Linked DNA regions of Homo sapiens: all the other regions are linked to region 2. Evidence: promoter capture Hi-C in 16 types of primary human blood cells and fetal thymus (Javierre and others, 2016). All regions are on one chromosome and are shown on one strand. Each heading gives the region's core, a stretch centred on a gene start or on the middle of the fragment in contact. The rest is flanking DNA. Distances are from core to core; before and after follow the strand shown. Region 1 holds the start of VCPIP1 (valosin containing protein interacting protein 1). Region 2 holds the start of NCOA2 (nuclear receptor coactivator 2). Region 3 holds the start of COPS5 (COP9 signalosome subunit 5). Region 4 holds the start of UBE2W (ubiquitin conjugating enzyme E2 W).

Region 1 (6,419 bases), core at 16-2,515, 3.7 Mb before region 2:
CTTCTCTGCAGGGATGAGCCCAGGTAGAAAGGTGGCTGAATAATCACCAGAGCTTCTCATGCCACTGAGGGAATCTAACAGAATAATAGGACGATGTAGCACATTGGCAAGACCAAATATGTGGATATTCCTCAGGCCCAAGGGAACACCCTCAGGTGGTACAAACAGAGGGTCACACTCATTGATAATGTCCTCCCACTCAGCAGCATCAATGAAGTCATGGAACAGAGCTTGATATCGGGCCAGGTGCTGCTGAAAGTGCTGTTTAAGATTCTCTCTTAAGGCATGCCAGAAGAGCTCTCGGCCTACTAGAGCCCGAGACACAGCATGCACCAAGCAGTGTCCATCCCCGTCCACATGCACTGGAATGAGACATTCCTGGCTTTTATTGGCCCGCTTAATGTCCTCCAGAGTGTCATGCAAATACAGGAGGCTTCCGGAGCGGTCCTTGCCATAGCCCACAGTGTTAACATGCTCTGGTTCTATGAGGAAGGCGCGGTCACCCAGTAAGGCGCAATCGAACAGTTCGCCCTGGTTCATGTCCCGGAGAAGCTTGGCCCGGCCTGTCTGTTTGTCCATTCCATAGCGAGCTAATATGGGCGACAACAATTTGCAGTGATAGTTGGAAAGGCCCATCACCTTTACCAGTTCCGTGTTCTTCTTGGGTGCCCCCGTAACCCCGAGCAGCGCGTTCCGCAGCAGGTTGTGTAGCACTACGTCCGGGTCGGTCACCTCCTCAACCCCCAGCAGCTGTTGCTGCTCGTGCCGCTGGCCGCACTCGGTACACTCGATGCTGACAGAACCGGAGGCCGGGAAAAATAGACGCGCCTGACACTTCGGATCCGGGCAGCTCCCGGAAAGGATTCTCCGGTCTCTCCGCTTCAAAAGCCCCCCCGAAGCAGCCGCCGACGCCAAGGACGACGGAGTCTGTGGAGCCTCAGGGGGAGGAGGTGGCGGCGGCAACGGAGGCGGCGGCGGCGGCGGCTGAGACATAGCTCCTGGCTCTCGTGTCTCGCTCCGCGTCCCAGGCGACCCTCAAAAGCTCATAGCCCAGACCCCCACCAACCCGACTCGGTCCAGTCCAGGCCCAGGGCGAAGCACTTTCCTTTCCCTACCAGCTCTTCCTCCTCCTAAGCGAAGGCGGAAGCGCCGGACGTTGTTTCTCTTCTTACTTCTCCACTGCCGTAGCCGTTGCCCCGAACGTAACGGCCACCACCCCACCCCGCACTCACACTCACTCACTCTCGCTCTCTCTCCCTCAGACACAGACATACACGCCCTCATTGAGTGTGCGCAGGCGCAGCTTCCGCTCTGCCCTCTGGGAATTAGAGTCTTCCAGCCTCTGTGCTGGCCATCAAGCCCTAGGATCTTGAGTCCAGAAGGAACTACAAGTACCGTGAGGCCAAGCGGTTCAGCGCTAGAGGAGAGGAGGAAGAGGACGGCAACAGGAAAAGGGGCGAAAGAAAGATGGTGACTCGCGTTGCCTGCCGGTAGTTGTAGTTTTACTGGGCTCTCCTTCGTCGTCTTCCCCACTCTGCAGCCCAAGGCAAAGAGTCTGAGAGACCACATTTCCTAGGATGCCGTGCGGTGCGTCTAGCTGCACTTCCTCCTTAGGCGGAGGGGAGGATTCAGGGAAGCTTGGTTAAAAACAGTTATGGCAGTGGGAGTCGAAGCGAGGGTCTGAAGTTCACGACTACTAGAAGGGGAGGGGAGTGGAAAGGCTCTCAGTGAAAAAGGTACAGTAAATAAATGTCCAGGGATATTGGGGGCTGGGAAGTTGAATAAATGGTCTAATCTAGGCTGGAGGCCATAAGGGGGAAAACAGTTGATTCTCGGAAGCTCTGCCTTCTCCCCCTCTCTAGTGCGAATCACTGAGGCGCCATTTGATTTCTCGTTTCCTGCATGTTTTGGCAGTTTACAGTGCAAATAACGGTACCTTGGATGTCTGTAGAGTTTTGTGTGCATATACAAATTCTCTTAACTAGGTTTAATTTCATTTGCTCTTTACCACCCTACTCCCCAGAGAATAATAAGAGCCATCATGTGTTAAGTTCTTAATATGTGTCTGGACAGCATTTGCATAACACGATATCATTTGATCTTAAAAAATAACCTTCTTAGGAAACAGGCCCAGAAAGGAAATGACTTGCTAAAGTTCACGCAGCTGATAAGTGAGTGGATAGACATTCAGATCTCAACCTGTCTTCTTTTTACAGATCAGGACATAGGCAGGAAAGGTTAGGCCTGTATTACATAGAATAGTAACTAGCATTTGCTTACTATTGCCTTATAGTTTACATATTTAATAATATGTTCACATGTATCATCTCATCCTCACACCAGTCCTGTAATACCTTTACCAGGTGGTGTTGACTTCATTTACAATCAGGGAAACTGAGACTAAAAGGAATTAAGTGACTTGCCCAAGGTCAAGTCACCAGTTATGCTGGATCCCAATCTCAAACCTTGAGAGTGATTTTTACGCTGCTGCTTACCAAAAAATCCCGGCCGGGCGCGGTGGCTCACGCCTGTAGTCCCAGCACTTTGGGACGCTGAGGCGGATGCATCACGAAGTCAGGAGATCGAGACCATCCTGGCTAACATGGTGAAACCCCGTCTCTACTAAAAATACAAAAAAATTAGCCGGGCGTAGTGGCGGGCGCCTGTAGTCCCAGCTACTTGGGAGGCCGAGGCAGGAGAATGGCGTGAACCCGGGAGGCGGAGCTTGCAGTGAGCCGAGATCACGCCACTGCACTCCAGCCTGGGCGACAGAGCAAGACTCCGTCTCAAAAAAAAAAAAAAAACCCAAAATGTTAGGCTCAAATCTTTTGCTAGGCCTTAGAGTCTCCTCTTAGTGATGAAGGGATGTTTAATGTTAAGGAGGCAACAGCTTTATTCTTTTTTCACTTGGGTAGGAAACTGCCTCTTCATACAGAACAATATTCATATGTTAATTGAAAGCTAGTATTATTTTTGTACATTCATCCTCTTTCACTTATTACGGAAATTCTTGCTTTCTGGAAGTTTAGTATCACCTTAGGTAAGTGGACTACCTCAAAATTTCTGAAACATTTGGCACCAACTAGAAACATTAGTGAAGTCCATGAGATCATTTGAGTCTTCTGTAGCTGCCCAGGAAACCGCCTGATTAGGTTGTGTGTGTGTGTGTGTGTGTGTGTGTGTGTGTGTGTGTATGTATGTATGTAGAACTTGATGCTTTGAAATGAACCATCTGCAAAATAGAGGCCCATAAAGGGTATTAGTTTTGATGTGCACCTAATTGCTACAATTTTCTTGAAAATAAATATTTGAAAGAGAAATCCTCCATAATGGACCTTAATTACAAGAGAAGTGATTTTTCCTATCTTGGGATATTTTTCTTTCTTTTTTTTTTTTTTTTTTTGAGACAGAGTTTCACTCTTGTTGCCCAGGCTGGAGTGCAATGGCGTCATCTTGGCTCACCCCAACCTCCGCCTCCCAGGTTCAAACCATTCTCTTGCCTCAGCCTGCCGAGTAGCTGGGATTACAGGCATGAGCCACCACGCCCAGCTAATTTTGTATTTTTAGTAGAGACGGGGTTTCTCCATGTTGGTCAGGCAGGTCTTGAACTCCTGACCTCAGGTGATCCGCCCGCCTCGGCCTCCCAAAGTGCTGGGATTACAGGCGCAAGCTACCGTGCCCGGCCGGAGGGGGTATTTTTCAATAAAGTTTTTCTCAGAGAATTCATGCAAGAAAAGTTGTTTATTCTAACAAGTTTGGTGGTAACTACACAGATTGGTTTTGGCACTGATTTTTTATTAACAGTTGAATGCTTTATAAGTAGAGAAATTGGGTATCTCCTTTAAGTGGAGATTATTTTATGCTGTGACGAAAATGTTACACCTGCAGTGAAAGTTTTTCTCATACAGAATCCAAATAATTGAATTAAAGCTTTGTAGCACATGAGATGACAACAGTCTGCAATTCTAACACTGTCAGGTACTTTTATATCTTAACAACACCAGGCCAAATTTTTCTTATTGATGATACATATACATAGTGAAGTAGATTTTTAAAATTGTATTTGAATATGTCATTCTGAACCATACTATGACAAAATAATCACTTCCCACCCCACTGAAGAAATGAGAAGCCTTTTTCTGGCTTGTCTAGATCATTTAATAAGTTTGTAGATGCACTCAAAGTTCAGAAAGAAAGCTAACATAAAGGGGCAATGAAATTAACCATGTCAAGTTTAATATGTGAATTAATTCTTTATTACTAGCACTTAGAAGGCATGGATACCTACAAAGAAAAAAAATTGTTAGGTCAAAAATAGGACATACTGTTTCTTATAAGACCGGAGGAGTGTAGAAAGCCTCTCCTGCTTATGCAAGATCTGCAGGCTTCCTTCCTCTTTTCCTCCCAAATTCCATGATCTTGCCTAATGAAGATTAACTTAACTACCTAATTAACTTTCACAGGATTTTTGTGGGGTAGATAATAGTTCTTGTTTTTAGTAGTCCAGATGAAAAGAATAAGCTGGGCCTCTGACATTAGCTGTGCTGATACACGTCTCTTCTACCACCATCACCCCAGCATCACTAATACCTAAATTGCCAAAATTCAGTTAAAATAGAAATTCATCTTTTTCATAGTTTCTAGTATGGCACTTGTAAACTCCCTATATTGCTTTTAACAAACTTGGTAAATGTAAATGCAGAAGTCATCCACTTTTACCAACAGAACAACCATCATTGTTCTTGATCTTTTATATTTTATATATATAAGGAAGGGAATCATAACTTTGGGGATTGCTGTAAGTTGGCCACATACCTGCCTATATAAACTATACATCTTTACCAAGAATTGACTGTGTTCTTCCAGACCCGTGCCACGTATAGTCAGACTTCCAGTCACAAGCTTCGACTGAAGCTCAAAGTGGATTTGGGAGGGACTAATTATTGAAGTAGGTATTATAAGAATTTAAAGGGATGCAAAATTTCATCTCTGTCTCAAAGAAGCTTAGAGTTTAATAGAAGAGGGAGGCTAAACTAAATTGTTCATAAATATAAGTAGAATAAAGCATGTAATCAAAATAATACAGGAAATATCACAAATGCTATGAAAATTTAATTGAGGGCAATTTATTATAGGGCAGTGTTTTGAGTATATCATCTTAATCTTTAAAACACTCCTGTGATACAGTATTGTCCTTATACGGATAAGATTTAACTCTAAAAGGTTAACATCGTTTTTATTACCACCAGCTATGAAATAGAGCTGGGCTTCAAATCAAGGTTTTCCTTGTTCAGCACTCACTCTTTCCACTACATCACAGCTGCTTACTGATTTGAGAGAGAATTAGGCAAGAAGTCAATACAAACTGGTGACCAGTAGCCAAACTTGGCTTGATGTAGTTTTGTTGGGTCAGCAGGAGTTTAACTTTATTTTTTTTGAGATGGAGTCTCGCTCTGTCTCCCAGGCTGGAGTGCAGTGGCGCGATCTCGGCTCACTGCAAGCTCCGCCTCCCGTGTTCGCGCCATTCTCCTGCCTCCGCCTCCCGAGTAGCTGGGACTACAGGTGCCTGCCACCACGCCCGGCTAATTTTTTTGTGTGTATTTTTAGTAGAGATGGGGTTTCACCGTGTTAGCCAGGATGGTCTTGATCTCCTGACCTCGTGATCTGCCTGCCTCGGCCTCCCTAAGTGCTGGGATTACAGGCTTGAGCCACCGTCCCCGGCCTTTTTTTTTTTCTAATGTGAATGTGTTTGAGCAGTGGCCAGTATTCCACTCTTTAAGACCTTACACCAGGGCCCCTTGAGACAAATGACCGAGTACAGAGCTGCAAGTCATTCCTTCGCACAGTAGTCCTCAAGCTTTAATGTGCATCACAGTCTGGAAGGCTTGCTAAAACACAGATTGCTGGGCTCCATCTTAGAATGAGTGTGTCTGAGGTGGAGCCTGAGAATTACATTTCTAGCAAGTTCTCTGGTTGCAGATGCTGCCAGTCCTTGCGAGGATCACACTTTGAGAATCACTGCTTACCAAACTTGTAGGGCACTTTTGGGGAAGGCTTGTTGTGTTTCTGTTGTTTATAATACAAAAGGAATTGCTTGTCAGAATGTGCAGAAATAGGTTAAAAAGAAAATTAAAATTATCTATCAGAGATTATAATTGCTAACATTTTTAATGGACCATTCAAGCTCCTTTTTTCTATGTGTGTATAGTATGTACTTTTTTAAGAAACCAAAATTATATAATAATAATAATAGCTATTAACACCTTTTTAGCATCTATTGTGCACCAGGGTCTTTACATGTAGTATTTACTTAATCCTTTTAATATCCTTATGAAGCAGGTACCATTACTATCATTCTTATTTTTCAGATGAAGAACTTGAGGCACAGAAAGGTTAAGTAACTTGTTCAGTGTCTCATT
Region 2 (6,363 bases), core at 1,169-3,668:
GCAAACTACATTTTACTCAGACTTTTTCCTGTAGACAAATATTCTTTGATTAGCTTTGCTCCTTAAATACCCACACTTAATGTTTCAATCAGTGATGCTTTAGTTCCCAACTTCATTTTGTTTGCAAAAAGAAAAAAAAATGCATACCATAAACCACAACTTTTTTTTTTAATGACATCCCCAATGCCGAAGTTTCAAGTACACTTTGGGAACTGGAGCTCTAATTAAACAAGAAACCAGTGAAGCCATTATGAACAATGATGCTTTCTACTACCAATAATCAGTTGACGTGATACTGCTCCCATGCCTTCATTCTCAGGGTTCCCTTTCAAATTTCATTGTCCCCATTCTGGCATAGCTGAGTGAAACCGAGATAAGAGGTAAACGGGTAACTTCTGTCTTCTGTGACCCTTAGCATGTAAACCGGACGCTGAGGTCCAGGACATGATCACTACAGCATATGCCATTTTAGAAACCGGCCTCGGTGAGTTACTGCCACATCCTAAAGTGGCTTTAGACTTCGTCGTGTCTAAGACAACGTCTATTTCGGTACGAAAGACATACAGGACCTCGAGTGCCTCGGCAGCCTCTGCGGGTCGGAGCCCCTATAAGTGACACAACCCCAGAAATCAAGGAGCGGGTGACTCGGGGATGGACAAGAGTAGCTGGCTCTCAGCGTCTCCATGACTCCCCCGCCCCGCATGCAACTCTGCTCTAACTGGTCAGGAGAAACCCCGCCCCCTTCCTTCCTCCGGTCCGCACGATTGGCTCACCGACACCCGGCAGGTCAGCTCCCTGCCTTCGATTGGCTCACTGCCCCATCAGTCAGACGCACCGAGATTCGGGTCGGTGGGAGGGGAAGGCGTCGGAGGAGGTGGAGAGGGAGTGGGATTAGAGGACGAGGTGGCGGAGGAAGGTGTTCAGGCTCGGTCTCTGGTTTGGGAAAGTTTCCCCTACCAGTGACGGACCCAGAACGCGGGAGGCCCAGTCCAGCTCCGGGCCAGCGGAAGGGGGCTCCAGTCCCCGATTCCCGCCCCTCGGTCCCGCAGGCCCCGGAAACCACTAGAGGGAGGGGAAGAGGGAGGGGCCATCTAACCAGGGACCGACCCACCCCCGGTCTCGGAAGAGGCGCCTCTGGGACTCCCCCGAGGGGAGGAGGCGGGGAGCGCAGCCGGCAGCGACGACCCCGGCCCCCTCCCCCAGCACCCCCCAGGGGCCCGAGAGGGCCGGGTCCCCGTGCCCGGGGCGTGACCGTCGCGAGGCGGCCACAGGGCCCCTCCCGCTTCCCGCCTGGGGCCCCGAGGGCCTGTCCCTTCAGGGGCGGAGAGAAGGGGGCGAGAAAAGGGGGCGCTGGCGAGCCAACCCGGAACCTCCCGGTCCGCCTCCCGCCCCCGGCCCCGGCCCCAGCGCGCCTCCTGCATACACGCCCGCACCCAGAAAGTTCAGTCAGGGGCGAGCCCGGCTCGGCGCCGCCGGGGCCCGGCCCCCGGCTCCCCGCCCCCACCACGGCCCGGCCTGCTCGGCCCCAGCGCGCCGCCCGCCCCGCCCGCCGCAGCTCCTTCCCGTCCGCCCGCGGTGCTCGGCGCCCCTCGCCCCCCACCCCCGGGGCTGACACGGGCCCGGGCCACCCGCCGGGCCGCGGCTCCCCTTCCCCGCCCCGCGCTGCAGCTCGCCGGCCGCCCCGACACCCCGCTTCACCTTCACACACCCCCAGCACTTCCCGAGTCCTGCCTCCCCTCGCCCGGCTCCCACTCTCCGCTGCAGCCGCTCCGCGCTTCCATTAAAGAATGCACCTTCCCAGGATTCACCTTCTCGGCTCTGCCGCGCTGCCCCCGAGGGGTTAGAGCCTCGGTCTCCGCCGACCCCGCACCGGGCTGGGCAATGGGCACTCGCTCCTCGGGGCGGGGGCCGCGCCCGCACCCCCGGCCGCGCCTCGGCGCTCACCTCTCGCCCGCGCCGCGGGCTGCAGCCTCCGCCCGCCTCGCGCTCCGGGACTCGTCTCCTGAGCTCTCGCAAGGCGCTGGAGCGCCTCCTTTCTCTCCCGGGGACTCCGCGTCTCCCCGTCGCTTCCCGCCCTCCCCACCCCCAAGCCCCAACTCCCCAGCGTCGCTGCGCCTCCGGGATGCAACTCCCGTTTTCCGCGCACTCCGGCGGCGGTCCCCGCACACAAAAACAGCCTCTCGGAGGCGCACGGCTCTGTCGGAGCTCGGCGCAGGAAGGGCAGTCGCGGCCGGGGGTGGGGACGCGGCGCCCCCCGCCTGCCGCCCGCCCCCCGCCCGCCCTCGCGGCCCCGGGGGAAGGCGCGGTTACCGGCTCGGGTCGGTCACGCCGTCAGGTGCCGGCTGCCGTCGGCGCTGACCTTCGCCGCCGAAGCTGTAGCCGAGGCTGCGGCCGCCATGTTCCCGTGTTAATAACTGCTGCCTGGTTGTTTATTTCAATGGAGATCCTCCCCCAACTCCCTCCTCCTCCTCCTCCTCCTCCTCCTCCTCCGCGTCTCCGCACTTGCGGAGAGACAGACAGCGCGAGCTCGCGAGCAGGGGAGGGGGCTCGGGAGCCAGGCCGTCCCTCCCTCTGCCTCCCCGGCAGTGGCCGCCGCCAAGTCCTGTCACCGGGAAAAGGACGGGGCGGAAACTTGCCTCTCGCGCCCCCGAGGAAGGGGCAAAGGTGGACGCAGGGTTGTCCGGGGAGCAGCCCCTGGCCGCGGGGTCCGCAGCATCTCCGTCGGCAGAGTCCTCTGAGAAGGCGGCCCGGGGAGAGGTGAAGAAGAGTAAGGGGACAGGGGACAAAATGGGTGACTGTGGTAGAGGGAGGGTGACCTAGAGGTGACTGGAACTGAAGAGAGAGTCAACAGAGGACTGCATGGGAGGGCAAAGGGCAATGCCAAAAAGAAAACTAGCGACTGGGACGGGCCTGGGCCGCTGAGTTAGAGGCAGTGGGGCCTGGGGGCTGCAGACGGCAGGGACGGTGCCCCAGGACGAAGATCGGGGAGAGCCGAGTTCCAGGGTCGCCAGCAGAGGACCCTCGCGCCCGTCCGGCCGGACCCTTCGGCCAGCACCCTGCACCCCCTCGGGCGCACCTCACCCTACCCAACTCCCGGTCCTGCCGCTGCTCCCCGGAGGCGCCCCGCATCCGTCAAGTCCCCTACGGCTCCAACAGGGAGAGGCTTCTCCCATTGCAGTCCTAGCTCCAGAGGGGATGGAGAGGCGCGACTGTGGGAGCTGGAAGGGGCACCACCCGGCAATTGCGGGATAAAGCAAATGCTGCACACAGAGTGTGAAACTTAACCTGGTTGAGAATTTTCGGCACATCATGAAATCATAAGTTTGTATTGGAAAGTCCATTCTCTAGACATCCGTGAACAAAGTACTGAGGGGACGTAGGAGATTGGCACTGAAAATGCGAGAACCCCCATTTAAGTGTTACTTAGACCAATCTGTTTTACGCTTTGGAAAAGCAAGTTTTTTTTCCAACTTATACGGTAATTAGTTGAAAAAAAAAACTTTTGTTTAATGGCAGTTATCAAACTATGAGAGGAACATATTCCCTGATTTTAATCTTATAATGAGAAAGGTCACTTGCGGTAGACAATAAGAGTGTTTATTGAACACTTACTGTGAATCTGACTGTGCTAGGTGATGTATATATGCTATAGGCCTTAATCCTCAAACCTTCCGAAGTCATTGCCGCTTTTCACTTCACACAAAAAATTGAAGCTTAAAGTAATTTGCCCAGGGTCACAGCCAGTAGTTGGAGAGGATGTGAGCCCAGTTCTGGTGAGCTCCAAAGCCCATGCTTTTAAACATGTCTTCATCCTAAAATTTGTGGGTGTACCGCCAATTTTATTTGGGAAAAGAATAAAAAAAATGTGTGGGGTGTGTGTGTCTGTGTTTGTTTGTGGATAGAAAATGCTTGGAAGCCTATAACAACAAATGTTAGCGCTGGGGAGTGTAAGAAGTGGGTGATGAGGCACTTCCACTTTTTATTTTGCACACCTATCTAATGTTTGAAATGTTTGCATTGACTATGTATTAATGTATATTTTTAAAGGTTTTTTTTTTTTTTTTTTTTTTTTTTTTTTAGCTAGCTGGAATAATAGAATTATGTTCCCAAAGCGTTGAGAGGAAATGGAGAGTTTGTTTATGGCCTATCTTCTGCTAATACCAGTCTGTAGCTTGTCTACAATGGGGTAGTAGTCACCTGAGGTTTGTCACAATTCTGAACTCCCGATTTGCTTTCCTGTCCTCACCCCCAACTGTGAGTTATCAGGAGTTGTGATAATAAATAAATAAATAAATAAAAATTTAAAAAAAAGATTCTCCTTCTTGCTTGCTATCCCTCCCATTTTGGCAGAAGTCCAGAGTCTATCAGTCCTCTGCAATCGTAGATTTCACACTTTTTAAAACTACCCATGATACCTCTGCAAACAAATGACTCCCCCCATTGCATTCCCGTATTACCCAATAAAACGTCTTACGACGGCTGAAGACTTTTTCTTACAAGAAATAAACAAAAACGTCTGACAGCATAGTAGATGAGTTCCATGCCCAAGTGCTACTCAATTGCCTGAGCTTGAATTGAATTGTGTGACTTAAACGCGCTCTGGTACAATCTCTGGGTGCCCTCTGAACTTCAGGCTCTTGCTGTAACAGTAGTCTGTCTTGCACTAGAGTTGTTTATATGTTTGTCTTTCTCTTTCACTAGATTGTAAGTGCAACAGAGCCCAAGACCTAGTCTTGTTCTTGTTTGTACATGCTATAGCACCTAACAAGGAATGTATGATGTTTGTTGTTTCATTGAATTTGTGAAATATAAATAATAGTATCTATTCCGATCCTCATGTCCTCTTCCCCACCTCATCTTCCAATCCCTTGCTCATAAAACATGTTTATAAAAAACATCTTCCATACTTAGAAAGAACTTTGATTCCCATGAGACCTCAGAACAATTGTTTATTAAAACTAGCCATAATTTTTAGTGAATCATCACTATGATAATGTAAAATGAAAAGGTAGAGGAGGCGGTAAATAAGTTGGCTCAATGACACAAATTAAGAAAGGAAGAAGAAGGAAAGAAAAAAGAAGGCAAAGATATAGGAACTAGGTATATTACCAAGAGAGAACAACAAGGAAAAAATATGTGGGTGCAGATCATAAAGGGGAAGGAAATTATTGAAATTTAGTGGAAGTAGAAATAACATACCGTGAATGGATGAGGCAAGGAAACACCAAAAATGTCAGCAGAATCATAAATGCAGCATGGAAAAGTAAAGAAAATGACAAATTATATATTTAACAATATAACCTAGGAATAATCAGAACAATATGACTGCTACAAGACAAGAATTTCTATTTTTGTCTGCCTTTTCTTCCACAGTTTTCAAAGTACTCACTTTTTTCATAAGTAAACTGCATAAAAGTGGGAGATTCTATACTATTTTTGAGTTAATACTACTAGCATACATCATGAGATTAGAGGTAACAGTATGGTAAAAAAGAGCTATAGAATATAAGCAAATAAATATGATGTGAAGTGGTCTCTGTAAGTTACTGTGTGACCTCAAACAAGTCACTAAATATCGCAATTTCCTCATCTGTGTAATTGTTGCAAGACTCAAAATGGTGTAAATAAATGTACTTTGTTAACTATCAAGCTCTTTATACAGATGTAAGGGAATATTATTATGTCAGCTAATATGTAGCACAGTTATCTCTGTTTTGGTGCATTCCTAAATTGCCAAAGCAAAAATCTATAGTTCATTCTATTAAAATGTAATCATAGGGTGGGGGCGTCAGTTAAAACATTTGTTTGTCAATTTGATTATTGAACGACTGTGATGAAATGTTTCATTCTTATTGTTTGCTCTCTTCTAAATCCCTTAAATAGTATAACTACAATAAACAAATGTCTAATATAAGTCAAGCATATTACATAAATTTTTTCCTTACTGAAGTAGTCATTGTATGTATATTATTCTCATTTTATGTACAATAAAGCTGAGCTTCAGAGACTTCAAGTAAATTAATGCAAAGTCATAGAACTGCCTTCGCTGCATATCTAAGATTGTGTTAGGATTCTACTCTTCATCACTTGTATTTCTACTACTCTGAGAAACACATTGGCTGGGCGCAGTGGCTCACGCCTGTAATCACAGCACTTTGGGAGGCCGAGGCAGGCAGATCACGAGGTTAAGAGATTGAGACCATCCTGGCCAACATGGTGAAACCCCGTCTGTACTAAAAATACAAAAAAAAAAAAAAATTAGCTGGGTGTGGTGGCGCGCTCCTGTAGTCCCAGCTACTTGGGAGGCTGAGGCAGGAGAATTGTTTGAACCGGGAGGCGGAGGTTGCAGTGAGCCAAGATCGC
Region 3 (6,377 bases), core at 3,158-5,657, 3.3 Mb before region 2:
CTCCTACCTTCCTCATAAAACCTGGATTGCACTTAAAACACCCTGAACATAATAAGAGCTGCTCTAGCAATTCCTGCTTAACTCAGTTCAGTCAACACTGATTGAATGCCTATGATGAGCTGGCACTGAGACATAGATGCTATGACTACCCACAATTTACAGAGGGGAGAAGCAAGATACACAGTGGTTAAATAATTTGCTCAAAGTCCCAGCTTCTAAGAGATGGAATTCACATTGAAACCTAGGCAGACTGATACCAGAGCAATTTCTCTTTACTACACTATTCTTATTTCTCAGTATACTTGCTTCAGCAAATCTTCATAAAGAACTTAATTAAACTGGTTTTAAAATTCTTACCACCACTGCTACAAATGGTTCCTGGAACTGCTGATTGAGCATCTGAGTACTAACATCAATCCCAGAAAGCCAGCAGCCATAGCCAGGGTGGCTATGATACCACCCGATTGCATTTTCAAGGCGGCCAACCTAACAAATGAAGGGGCAAAAAAGTTTAAGATTACTCTTTAATTAATTTACAAGGTACCAGTACAATAAGGGTAACCAGTCTCCTTCCCATCTCCTTCTCCTCAATTACCCACTTTTCTCAGCCCAGATGCGAAATCTATGGGCAATTGCTTACCCTTACAGAGATATTCTTTGTATACAGAATACATATTCTTTGCACATACATAGATTGATAAAAACACACACAATAGCATACCACATAACATAATAATGTTTTACACTTTGTTTTTTCACTCAATAAACTGCTTTGGAGTTTGCTTCATATAAATCATCAATATATATGATGGTTATCTTTTTATTTTTTTTTCTTTTAAAGGCTGCCTGGCAGTCCACTGATGGATATACCATAATTTATTTAGCCAGTTTTATACTCAGGAACTGAGTTAGGTTGTTTCCAAATTTTTTATTTTAAACACGTATCTGATAATAAGTGTGAGAGTTTATTTAAAAAAAAAATAAAATCCATGCCATAGACCGGGTGCAGTGGCTCATGCCTGTAATCCCAGCACTTTGGGAGGCTGAGGTGGTGGATCACCTGAGGACAGGAGTTTGGGACCAGCCAGGCCAACACAGAGAAAACCCGTCTCTACTAAAAATAGAAAAATTATCCAGGCCTACTGGTGCACGCCTGTAGTCCCAGCTACTCAGGAGGCTGAGGAGGGAGAATTGCTTCAGCCCAGGAGATGGAGGTTGCAGTGAGCTGAGATCACGCCACTGCACTCCAGCCTGGGCAACAGAGTGAGTCCCTGTCTCGAAAAAAAAAAAACAACAACAACAAAAAACAAAAAAAACCATGCTATAAGTCTTATCAGGCTTTTAATCTCGTACATTTTACATATAAATCATTAAAATTTAAATATAAAATTTCATGTAAAGGGGATAATTTTAAGTTTAGAAACTCAAAAGTCACCTTGAGACTCTAACTTGCAATTACTAAACTATAAGAAACAACATTTTTACCTGTTTTGCATTTTCTATGTATGCAGCCATGTATTCATATGCAGCAGCCTGAGCATTTACTCGGGTTTCAGTGCCCTCCACAGGCAAAGCAAAACTGTCCATAATGATCATGGTTTCACCATCCACCTTTCCTAGCATCAGACCCATCACTTCCAAGTTGCCTCCCGATCTGGCATGCATCACCATCTTCAGCAGAGCCAATGCTGAGATTTTGCAGTACTTAAAGTAATGGTGACTGCAAAACAAAATCACAATGTAATTAAATTCCTTATATAAAGTAAAATTTCAGAAAAGTTTTTATGAAGATAAAGAGTAAGTATTGAAGGAATTTAGAGCGATGGAAAGGGAGTGTAGACTACGGGGAGAAAAAGTAAAAAAGGACAGTTTTTGCAGGCTGGAAACAATAAGTATGTCATAGTGCAGCAACGTATCCCCCTTAGGGGAGGGGAAAAGTCTGAAATACTTTTTTAATATGCTATTCAAATAAGGGAGTAACATGACCAGTTCAACAGACTTTTTCTCCATTAATTTGGAATCACCCAATCTTGGATTCTGACTGCTTGGATGGTTGTGCCTAACTGTTCTGAGGCCTAACCTTCTGGCCTAATGGTTAAGAATGTGGGTTCTGACATTCATCTGCTAAGGTCTGAATCTTGACATTGCCATTCCCTAGCTGTGGTATTGGGACAACCCTGTAATATCTGTGCCTAGGTTTCCTTTTCTGTAAATAGGGATATTCATAATTGTTGTTAGGATGAAATAAATGAAATAATGTATATAAAGTGCTTAGTGCCTTACACATACTAGAACCCTAATAAGTGCTAGCTGTTATCAGCATTATTAACCTGTCTCTTAACCCTACTCTCAAAGAACAGAGTGTTGAAGGGTGGGCTTCCCTGTTATATCAGCCTTAAATTAAAAAGTAGCCCTAATATCCTAGTCTCCTATGATCACTATTTCAGAGTTGGTCATCAGTGAATTAAACTCTTGAATAAAATTACATTTTGGTCTCATTAATGCAGCCCAAGACAGCTAGGATGAATATAATTAGAGCCACAATTAGACAGTGAGGCAGGCCAACAGTTTCCAAATATTTAAGAGTACACGAACCTAAAATGCACAGCCTGTTACAGAAGCAAGCAGATAACCAAGCAACTTAAGCAGCCTTACAGAGCAGTCAGTCAACGTCTCTACAAAGCCTTTTTAGATGTCTGCCCACAGAAAGAATCCAAATTTAATTCCTAAGCTTTGCCAGATTTCAACCAAAAGCTGAAAAATGTGTAGACCTCATGTTGGAAGTCAAGACATGAATCGAAATCTTGGCTTCTCCCTTTACTGGAGAAAAGAAGAAAGACAAGTTACTGTGCTCCTATTACATACATTCTAGACGACTCTTTTTATACATTATCTCACCTAATCTCTATGACAATACCAATAAGTAGGTCTTATTTCCATATTATGACAAATGAAGATGGATAAGTAAATTTCCTAAGGTCAATCAACTAGTTAGTGACAGCTGTGAGATTTGATCTTAGGTCTGACTATTGCTCAGTTGAGAGTTCACTTATGTCAGTATGATCATAAATTACATAACGTATTTGCTTGTTTTTTAATTTGTAACAAAAGGATGGATATACTGTACTGGGTTGTCATGAAAATTAAATGACGTGGAAATCTCTAGCTAGGTGCTTCCGCAGTTCACCATTGTGGAATCTGAATACTGAGAGACAAGGCTAGCCTTGTAAAAAAAACTGTGAGGCAGTAGAAGTATGTCCTCTTGTTGACCACAGCTTTCCTTTCTATCTAACCATTAGCTTTCGTGCTCTTTTTACTCTCAAACATAACCCGTAATAATTATCTTTTCCTGATAGCAGGAAATCTCTCAGGAGATGCTCTCAGGAAAAGATAAATATTATGGGTAAAGATCCCTCGACTTGTCACCACTCCCAGGGAAAAATGGATATTGTTGAAGGGCAAAAGGTCTTAAGCTCTATTTTTATAATTTCTGGCTTATGGGAACTGGTGGAGTAACATTTTAGAGACCAGGTAGTAGAGCCTCCGTGTGCCTCCGAAATAATTACCAGCAATCAAAAAACTATTATAGGCCCAGGCCTCACGCCTGTAATCCCAGCACTTTGGAAGGCGAAGGCGGGAGGATCGCTTGAAGGCAGAAGCTCGAGATCAGCCTGAGCAACACAGCGAGGACCCATTTCTATTAAAAAAAAAAGAAAAGAAAATAGCTCATAGCTATTTTTGAGACCTTGGGCTGCTGACTCGATTTCTGAAAACAGCTGCAATCCCCAGTTTGGGATTAGTTGAAGACCCAAACAAGGTGCATGTCGACACTGGGCTCAAGGTAGGGTGTGTGGCATATATGACAATACGGATGTTCAGAAGTGACAACTTAAATCACCGCTTGTTGTTCTCCCCTTACATCACCCGGGGGCAAATGGATTAAAGCGACAGAAAGGGGAGTGAAAGCCCCAGCGGAGGGCTTAGGCTCTACTTGCAGATCCAAGACGCATATTCTGTCCCCCTCCCAGTCGGTGAAAGCTCTTCACCCCTTTCACCTCCCTCTCCCTCTGGGTCTCTTAAACTCCGCCACCCTTTCCCTCCCCTGCGTCTCGCCAGGGACCTCCTCACTCCTTAGTCCAGGGCTTCGCCGCCAGGATTTCTTGCTGCTGTTTCTTGTCGTATTTGTAGATTTCATCGATACTCTGAGCTTCCTGCATGTTGTTGGCCAGTTCCCAGGTTTTCTGGGCCATACCGCTCCCGGACGCCGCCATCGCCGAGGAAGCGGAGAAGTTGTCGTCTCTACAACCAAGACGCAACTTTACCTCGCTAGGTTTCCGGGTGTGGGCCTTGACCCTCCGCACCACGGGAACAAACTCTTACCTAGACTCTTGGGGCAGCCATGACACCTAGAACCGGAGGTGAAGTTGGTAGAGACCATTCAGGGAAGACAGGGACCTTTCCGGGACATGACGATATAAACAGCAGTTACAGTAATAGCGAGAGACGAATCTTCTTGTTGCTTAAATGAGAACATCTTGTCTCGGAAAATTATATGTGTGAAATAGAACAAACAAAGTTATAGGGTATGGGAGTGGTATAGTCTTCCGCACCGGAAGAAGGGCATGTAACGTTATTCCAGAAACTGGTATTTGCCTTCTCTGCTTCTAATGCGCAGGCTCGGCCTCCGCCATATTAAAGGTAGCTGGAGCCTTAAGAGCGGGATGTGGAGGGCGGAAAGTGTTTTTGTGTGGGTATAGGTACCTTAAATGAGATAAGTTTGTTGAAAGACTAAAAGGTAAGGCTGTCTGTTGTACAACTGAGCTAAAAGTCGTTCTGGAAGCTGGTTGAGAGGAAGATAAACATGGCATTCCCGTTTACTTCAAGATGACTCACTGTACATGCGTAAAAGCTAACGGGCTCGTGGTGGCTTGGCACTTCACTTGCAGATGGGCTTTTTCTATCGATGCGAGGAGGCAGTGGGTACTCCTTGATTGCTTTTTTGCGCTTTGGTAAAAGTTAACATCTACGTATATATAATGTGCCATTACTGATCTGAAAATGTCCAGTACTCAGTTCTCGTAACAGGTTACAGTTAAATCTTTGGCACTCCTGTGAACCGCATTTGTTCCCAAAGCGTAATTAATCTGGGTAACTGGTTTGTTTTCTTCCTACAGTTAATACAATGTTTAATTTTTTTATTAGTTCACGTGTTTTAGGTTTTCTTTTTTCTCCATCTCATTCTTCCATCCGTGCAAGATTTTAAGTTTCAAGACACAGGGAGCAGGTCTGCGTTCCTTGTTTTATCTCCTAGCACCTAGCATAGGTGTTCAAGATTTTTTTTTCTTTTATTTCCTGAAAAGATAGCATGACAGGCCAGGCGCGGTGGCTCACGCCTGTAATCCCAGCACTTTGGGCAGCCGAGGCGGGCTGATCACTTGAGGTCGGGAGTTCAAGACCAGCCTGGCCAACATGGTGAAACCCCGTCTCTACTAAAAAAATACAAAAAAAAATTAGCCGGGCGTGATGATGTGCGCCTGTAGTCCCGGCTACTCATGAGGCTGAGGCAGGAGAATCGTTTGAACCCAGGAGGCGGAAGTTGCAGTGATCCGAGATTGCGCCACTCCAGCCTGTTAGACAGAGCCAGTCTCAAAAAAAAAAAAAAAAAAAAAAAGAAAGAAAGAAAGAAAAAAGAAGAAAAAAGAAAAGATAGCACCACAGCTGTTAACAACCTGGCCCCTATGCACCTCTTCCAGCTTCATCTCTTTTTAGTCCCCCCTTGAAACTTTTCATTCTAGCAATGCAGATATCTTTACTTTGGCTTTGCATATGTGGTCAGCATTGCTTGAAACGCTCTTTCGTAAATTTTCTGCCTGGGAACTCCTATTAATCTTTAAAAATGCAGTCCAGTGAGATCGACCACGAACTCTTTCTTGACGCTCCAATTACCATTCCTTCCATTATGTCTGTAAGTCTCCGTAGGTGCTTCTATAACTGTTACAATGCGTTGTAATAATCAGTTAAGACAAAAACATTAGAATTATTGAATCCACACCACAGCTTGCTGTTTTGGCACTGACTTTCCGTTGAAGAAAATTTCCTTTAAAACCATCTTACAAAGAAATTTAGGGTAAAATAGTACATTAATACCTACCCTTAGTTCCACTCTCCTGGGAAACTAGAGGTCTCTTTTCTAGTGGTAGCATATGGCCATATGCGATTGTATTGGGGTGAACTGAATAATATGTTGAAAATGGTAATGAAAGCCCAGGACCCAACGTTGACCACACTCCTGGGCTAGGAGTAATGCCCTGAGAGGTATGCCAACACTTTTCCTCTCACTACCACCCCTCCCCATTTTTCTTTCCAGGCTCTTACAC
Region 4 (7,012 bases), core at 2,520-5,019, 3.5 Mb after region 2:
ACATTACTTTTTTCTAGGAAGAAACAATAGGAAGGAAAAGAAAAAAAGAAAATGAGTAAAGAATGTCTCAAAGGGATCACATAAGTCTGAAAACCACTATCTTGAATTGTATATGGCAGAACTCTAGCAATATTAGGGAGTAGAGCGTCCCCAGCATTTACAGGTGTGCCAGAATATTGATCTCCCATCCCGGGAGTTTCATGAGGTGCTGCCTGCCAGGTGCTTCTAGCCTCCCAATCTCATCTACTTTAGTGTACTATTCAAAACTTACTTTCTATGTGGGCAGAACCTAAAAGATGGTTGAGACGCACTGACAGAATACATTAAAGCAGTTACTAGCTCAACTTTAAAATACATACTCTCCAATAAGAAATTCAAAGTCTACCCTTACTTGTTTTACTCATTACCAAGTAATGAAATCCCATGTTACATTTGTATAATATGGCATTTTAAAAAAAATACAGTTCCTCTTAGAGCTTAAGTAACTTCAGCAGCAGCAGCAACATCCTGGTGTGGGTTAGATAAATCTACTAAAAGCTTTTTGGGTTAAGGACATGGTCATTCCATGTTACAGCTTATTTTTTCCTAATCGAAATCCCCAAATGATCAATTTCCTAGTCTTCTTCCATGCTTTTTCTCCACTGCACTATCACCTTCTAATATAATAACACACTTGGCCGCGTGCAGTGGCTCACACCTGTAATCCTAGTACTTTGGGAGGCCGAGGCGAGTGGATCGCCTGAGGTCAGGAGTTCAAGACCAGCCTGGCCAACATGGCAAAACCCAGTCTCCACTAAAAACACAAAAAAAATTACCTGGGCGTGGTGGCCAGCGCCTGTAATCCCAGCTACTCAGGAGACTGAGTAGGAGAATTGCTAGAACCCTGGGAGCGGAGGTTGCAGTGAGCCAAGATGGCATCACTGCACTCCAGCCTGAGCAACACAGCGAGACTCCATCTCAACACAAAAAACAAGAACAAAACACAATTAACTTAAATATGCTGTTCTTATCTGTCTCTTCTTATGAGACTATTTATTATTAAATCCATGAGGGCAGAAATCTTGTCTGCTTTTGTTCATTGCTATAACCACAGCAACTAGATAAGTGTCTGACACATAGAGGTCCCCCAAAAGATAACTGGCTCAGTGAATAAACAAAGTTGATAATTTTATTGAAGATTTATGTATAATCTAGTTGTCTTAAAAGAGCCAAATGTTGCCATTAAGATAGTCAGGATATAAATTCTGTATAACAAAGATACAGAATAACCACACAGAAAGTAGGGTTGTCTTTCAAAAAGCTTGACATATATATTAAAATATTCTTAAAGATACTACCAGCAAATCTGCACTAGATATTTTAAAATACAAATAAAAAGGGAAAGACTTTTCAATAAATATAGGAAGCATCCGTTTTCCATTCCTCTAACCAGAAAACACAGAAGAATAGAGAGTGATAAGATTTCGATGGAACAAGGTGAAGGAAAAACTTAAAAGGGTGGTAAGAGTCTGAGATAGTAATACTTAGGGCACAGAAAAATGCACTATTGCACTGTCAATCAAGTATTTGTTTCCAATTCTTAAGACATCATGTAGGCCAGGCACGGTGGCTCACACCTGTAATCCCAGCACTTTGGGAGGCCAAGGCAGGCGGATCACCTGAGTTCGGGAGTTCAAGACCAGCCTGACCAACATGAAGAAACCCCGTCTCTACTGAAATACAAAATTAGCTGGGCGTGGTGGTTCATGCCTGTAATCCCAGCTACTCAGGAGGCTGAGGTGGGAGAATCGCTTGAACTCGGGAGGTGGAGGCTGCGGTGAGCCAAGATCGCCCCATTGCACTCCAGCCTGGGCAACAAGAGCGAAACTCCATCTCAAAAAAGAAAAAAGACACCATGTAAAGTTCAAGTTCAAGATTACCAACCTCTCTCTTACAAACAAATCTGCCTTTTCCAGATACTAAATCTAACGAGATGACACACTACGTTCTCTTGTCAAATACAAGTGTTGTGGATTTTAATCTTAATGTTTAGCCTCAAATAATGTTTTAATCTTAATACAGATAATAATCTTAAACTTGTCATAAAAAATGTTTTAATCTTAACACAGATAAAAATCTTTAAGTGGTAATGTAGCCTATTGCATCTACTGTTCAACTAGCATTCCACTGTTCCTTTTTTGGCCTCAAATGACGAAACTTCTCCAACGTCTCTGGGGAGACTAGTGTAAAGTATAATGTTTCCTGAAATTGTTCCTGTTTTTTCCCTGCACCATTCGTGATATCTCTTCAACTAGAAATGTTACATAAAACTTTTCTGTTCTGCAGGCAAGTCCAGAGGGAGAAGCAAGGTAAAGAGAATATTGTAAGGAAAACAGGTTGAAAGGGGAATAACATAAAAGCACAGGAGTAAATGTGAAGCAAAGCTATATTTGTACAAAAGAGGAAGAAGATGCAGAAAAGGGAAGAAAAACACTTTTAGCAGAGTAAAGAAAAAAAAATGGAGGAGGAACAGAGACTTGCTTCTTCCAGAAACAAAAGCAAAAAACACTTCTAAGAAAATGTGGTCTCTTTACCCAAGGGGATATTATGAAAACGCTAAAGGGTACTCAGCTGACACTCCTATTGAGCGTTCTACTTTCTCTTCCAATGCCTTTGATACCGCTAGTCTTCACCTGTGAATTAAATGCAGGCTACAGATAACGCACTCAATCCCTGCACAACTACAATTGTGGTTGCCATCTTTGCCTGGAAACAAAAAACAAAAAAACCCACAACTCCCTAGATTCGGGAAAAAGGAGTAAATTAAGTTGGAAAGCCAGAAAACCACGCCTTGCTAAGTCGGGGGGATATGGCACAGGTTAACAAACGCCTCCTACCAAACTAAGGTTCCACTAAAGGTCTGGGAATAAGGGCAAAGAGATGTATAGCCTTATCGCGACCGCAAGGGTGGGGCCTTGCAGTGGGAAACAAAATAGAAGGCAAGCTATCCCGAGAGGTTTAAGGGGGCTGAGGACTCGGCTCTCGGGAGATCGCCCATCAGGCGGTGGACACGGGGCAGCTTCGAGAGGAAGGAGACAGTGGACTGCTGGAGGAATGTCCGCGAGAATACCGAGGCTGATGGAAATAGAAGATACCCACGGGCACAGGATTAAGAGTCAAAGGGAAGAAGAGAGGGACGGGGCCGAGCAGTCTGGGGGGCCCGGCGTGGGAGGCCGGAGCAGAGGCCGCTAAGCGCCGTCCGCAGCCAGCCGCCTTCTCCGGAGACGCATTCTCGGCTCCCGCACACTCAGCCCCCCGCCGCCCCTGCCCCGGCAACAACCGCGGGCGCAGCTGTTTCCGTCGGGCCAGGGACAGCGGGGGTAAAGGCAACCCTGGGGCTGGCGGGCAGCAGACTGGCAGCGCCCGTGTGTGTGTGCGGGGAGCCGATTCTGAGACCGCCAACGCCAGACTTTGCCCTTTCTTCCCCAACCCTCCTTTATCACCCAACTTCCCGGCCGGCTGGTGTCCGCTTCGACCGACGGATACCGCACCCCCCACAACGCCTCTCGCCGCCTCTTACCCCTCCCCCGACGCCCTGAGCTGAGGGAAAACAGGCCACCCGGACCGATCCCGAACCCGCCCGGGTGTCCCCGAATCGCGGACGCCACCCCCGCCCGAACGCTGGCACTCTCTCGGCGGCTCCCTGGCCCGCCCAGATGCAGCAAACTCCTCTCACCTGCATTGACGCCATGATGGAACCATCCCCCCAAGACCGGCGAGGCCAGAGACGCAGGGGGAGGAGCTGCCGTGCTCGCGTCACGCCGCGGGGGCTCAACATCCCGGGCGCGGGGGCGGGGTCTGCGATGGGAAGGGGATGGAGCGAGGGGATTGGCTGGCGCGCAGGGCGGACGGGAGGAGGGGCTACGGGGCGGGGCGAGGGCGCGGTAAATGGCGCTCTGAGTACTTTCTGTCTCAGTCCGGCTGGCCGCTCACGCGTCGGGCCCCCATTTACTCTCGTTACTGAGGAGACACGGCTCCAGTTTTGACCCGACTACGGTTGTTTTCTTCGTGTGTACCGCGAAATGCTGATGACGTCCGGTTCCGCGCAGTTTTTTTCCTATTTCGTTTCCAACCACAGTTGTGCGGTTCACAGATTTTTCCCTTGGGATGTGTTTTCCATACCTCCAAGCCCACTCTCAGAGCCTTGGGGCCCCATAAAACTTCATGCGCAGCTGCTTTCTGGTATTTGCAGACCTGGAAGGCTTCTCGTATTCTTAATTTGGGGAAGAGAGACATAGGTTTCCTTGTACAACGGGATGAGGATTTAAGAGCAGAACGACACTGATATTTTAAAGGCGAGGGTATTTAGATTTGTGGAGCTGAAACTTGCCTGAAAAGGGAGACAAAATTTGGAAGTTTGTTGTGTGCAGTTTCTGCCCCTTACCCCCGCCCTTCACTTTTAAACTGCGCATATATCAACAATAGTTACGGTTGTTGCAGCAGTCTAAATTTGATTATCAGAATTGACCCTAGGCATGAATTTTTTTTTAAATATACCAATGTCGTGTTATATACACTTATACCATTATGTCCAGACTTCTCTTAAGCATAGTTCGTGGTGGGCAGTTTTGTGGTCATTTAGGGATGAACTTGGGTAGGGAAAGCTGAGCATACATAATTTATTTTAGGAATGCACCAGTTCTGCCAACATTTATCAGAAGTCACGTTTTTAAAAAGCTATTCTGGAACTGAAGATGTCATTGGTTTATAAGAGGAAAATGGAAGCCAAAAGCTTACACCTCATGCTCTATCTTTAAAAATTAAGGTGGCAGACACAATGAGTAGAAGGCTTTTATGTTACCAGAATGAAGGCTTAAAATCTGTCATTTTATTGACTCGGCTTTCTTTTTAGAAATTTCTTTAAGATATAAAAGCAATGTGGAATATCACTCTTTCACACTCTTAAAATAGATTACGTTCTCTGGAACTTCTCTAATCTGAAATGTGTTCAAAAAGGAAAAAGATCTTTAAAATACGCCAGTTAGTCTATGGTATAATATTAAACACTATTCATCACTAGAGAAGTTATGGTGGTATACCCTCCCCTTTCTCAGATGTCCACCTTAATGCCAGAAATGAGCGGAGTTTCCCTTTGTTGTGCAAAATGACTGTGTCCTTGAGGGATGTTTGGATGCTCTTGGTAAACCGGAATCAGCCAGAAGCATATCCGGTGTTAGCCTTGTTGTGTCATCAACATTACAACAGTGAGGAAACCCACATATTCCAATGAAAGAGGAAAACTTAAAGAAGAAGTTTCCAGTGTATTTTCTTTGAGATATATTTATTCCTATGACCTCAGAAGATCAGCTTTTACCGTCCAAGGTTCACTTTGCCTAAAAGCTGATTGTTCCTGTGGAAACAGTAGCATCGGATGACCCTACAAACAAAGCATTATGACATCATCAGAGCCAACAACCTGGCATGACAGATACTAATAAGGAAAAAAGAGGTTACAAGAATTCTGACACTCATCACAGTGGATCCAATATCTGGTCCCTTGGGTTTCATATATGTTAGAAGTATCTTCTCAGGAGGGAAAAGTCAATGCCAGTCATATCCTTTCTAGGTAATACTAAATAGCACATAATAACCTGTCTTCTTTTTTTTTTCTTTTTCTTTGAGACGGAGTCTCAGTCTCACCCAGGCTGGAGTGCAATGGCGCGATCTTGGCTCACTGCAACTTCTGCCTCCCAGGTTCAAGTGATTCGAGTAGGTGGGATTACAGGCGCACACCGCCACGCTCTGCTAATTTTTTGTAATTTTTTTGTATATTTTGTAGAGATGGGGGTTTCACCATGTTGGCCAGGCTGGTCTCGAAGTCCTGACCTCGTGATCCACCCGCCTCAGCCTCCCAAAGTGCTGGGATTACAGGTGTGAGCCACTGCGCCCGGCCATTCTTTTGTTAATATTTAATAAAAAGATCCTGACATAGGAGCCAAAACAGTGACTTACAGATGGTATGGGGGGTATATAATTATCTCCAGTGAGCATGTAATGTTAATATCTAAAACACTATTATGCCATGTTTGAAGACTAGGCTCATATTTCTACAGAGCGAGGCTTACTATCATTACTATCAGATAGGCAAAAGTTAAAATGTCTGACAGGATAATGCCAGTGCACTCCAGTCTAGGTGACAGAGCAAGACCCTGTTGTCTCAAAAAAAATATCTGACAATACCAAAAGTGAGAGAGGAAGTGGAGCTCTCATAAACTCTATAGGAGTGACACTAGTGCAATCACTTTGGAAAATAGTTCGGCAATAATGAAGTTAAAGTTTCCCATATCCTTACTGGATCTTCTTAATAGCATCATATGAGTTTTATATATATTTATATATATATTATAAATATATATATTTATATATAATATAAAATATATATATTATATATTTATATATATATTTATATATATATATATATTTTTTTTGAGACGGAGTCTCAGTCTGTCACCCAGGCTAGAGTGCGGTGGCGCGATCTTGGCCCACTGCAACTGCAGCCTGCCGGGCTCAGGTGATTCTCCTGCCTCAGCCTCCCTAGTAGCTGGGACTACAGGCATGTGCCACCACACCTGGCTAATTTTTTGTATTTTTAGTAGAGACGGGGTTTCATCATGTTGCCCAGGCTGGTCTCGAACTCCTGGCCTCAAGTGATCCACCTGCCTTGGCCTTCCAAAGTGCTGGCATTACAGGGATTACAGGCCATGCTTGGCCACGTAAGAGTACATTGAACAAATGCATATGTTAACATTGTTTGGATCTAGATTCAAACAAACTGTAAAAGAGATATTTTTGAGACACCTGGAGAAAATTAAATATAGAGTAGATATTAGAGGATATTAAGGAATTATTATTTTTGTTAGATTTGATAATGATGTTCACTTTTTCATTTCCACAGCTATTAGAAATGTCCATCAGCTTACGAGGAGATTCTCCCTCATCTCACAAACTACCTGCATCTCCACTTCCCTGGAAG

The links. The method cuts DNA at HindIII sites, captures the fragments that hold promoters and counts their contacts. A CHiCAGO score of 5 or more calls a contact.
Region 1: the fragment with the promoter of VCPIP1 here is called in contact with the fragment with the promoter of NCOA2 in region 2 in 5 of 17 cell types (non-activated CD4 T cells, M0 macrophages, fetal thymus and 2 more); the score reaches 8.8 in non-activated CD4 T cells.
Region 3: the fragment with the promoter of COPS5 here is called in contact with the fragment with the promoter of NCOA2 in region 2 in 1 of 17 cell types (activated CD4 T cells); the score reaches 9.1 in activated CD4 T cells.
Region 4: a contact is called between the fragment with the promoter of UBE2W here and the fragment with the promoter of NCOA2 in region 2, in 6 of 17 cell types (non-activated CD4 T cells, naive CD8 T cells, naive CD4 T cells and 3 more). The highest score is 12.8, in non-activated CD4 T cells.

The regions. Positions count from the first base shown.
Region 1 is chr8:66,665,966-66,672,384 of GRCh38, forward strand. It overlaps VCPIP1 (valosin containing protein interacting protein 1), which reads right to left and starts at 1,266. Exons shown (of 3, transcript NM_025054.5): 1 at 1-1,266. The coding sequence starts at 993. C8orf44-SGK3 (C8orf44-SGK3 readthrough) reads left to right here and starts at 1,631. Exons shown (of 19, transcript NM_001204173.2): 1 at 1,631-1,736. C8orf44 (chromosome 8 putative open reading frame 44) reads left to right here and starts at 1,631. Exons shown (of 2, transcript NR_161217.1): 1 at 1,631-1,736. RefSeq lists enhancers at 154-213, 464-983, 1,354-1,863. The HindIII fragment of the contact is 1,085 bases long and covers 551-1,635 here.
Region 2 is chr8:70,401,390-70,407,752 of GRCh38, forward strand. NCOA2 (nuclear receptor coactivator 2) reads right to left here and starts at 2,419. Exons shown (of 23, transcript NM_006540.4): 1 at 2,311-2,419. RefSeq lists silencers at 1,016-1,675, 1,706-1,995, 2,036-2,345, 3,036-3,195 and an enhancer at 2,816-2,935. The HindIII fragment of the contact is 4,231 bases long and covers 1-3,711 here.
Region 3 is chr8:67,057,726-67,064,102 of GRCh38, forward strand. It overlaps COPS5 (COP9 signalosome subunit 5), which reads right to left and starts at 4,408. Exons shown (of 8, transcript NM_006837.3): 1 at 4,129-4,408; 2 at 1,486-1,720; 3 at 358-486. The coding sequence starts at 4,271. RefSeq lists enhancers at 4,075-4,164, 4,345-4,614. The HindIII fragment of the contact is 5,475 bases long and covers 2,730-6,377 here.
Region 4 is chr8:73,875,093-73,882,104 of GRCh38, forward strand. UBE2W (ubiquitin conjugating enzyme E2 W) reads right to left here and starts at 3,770. Exons shown (of 6, transcript NM_018299.6): 1 at 3,716-3,770. The coding sequence starts at 3,730. It overlaps LINC01617 (long intergenic non-protein coding RNA 1617), which reads left to right and starts at 3,890. Exons shown (of 3, transcript NR_147034.1): 1 at 3,890-5,605; 2 at 6,935-7,012. RefSeq lists enhancers at 2,453-2,502, 2,979-3,856 and silencers at 3,243-3,502, 3,523-3,572, 3,713-4,002. The HindIII fragment of the contact is 3,471 bases long and covers 1,299-4,769 here.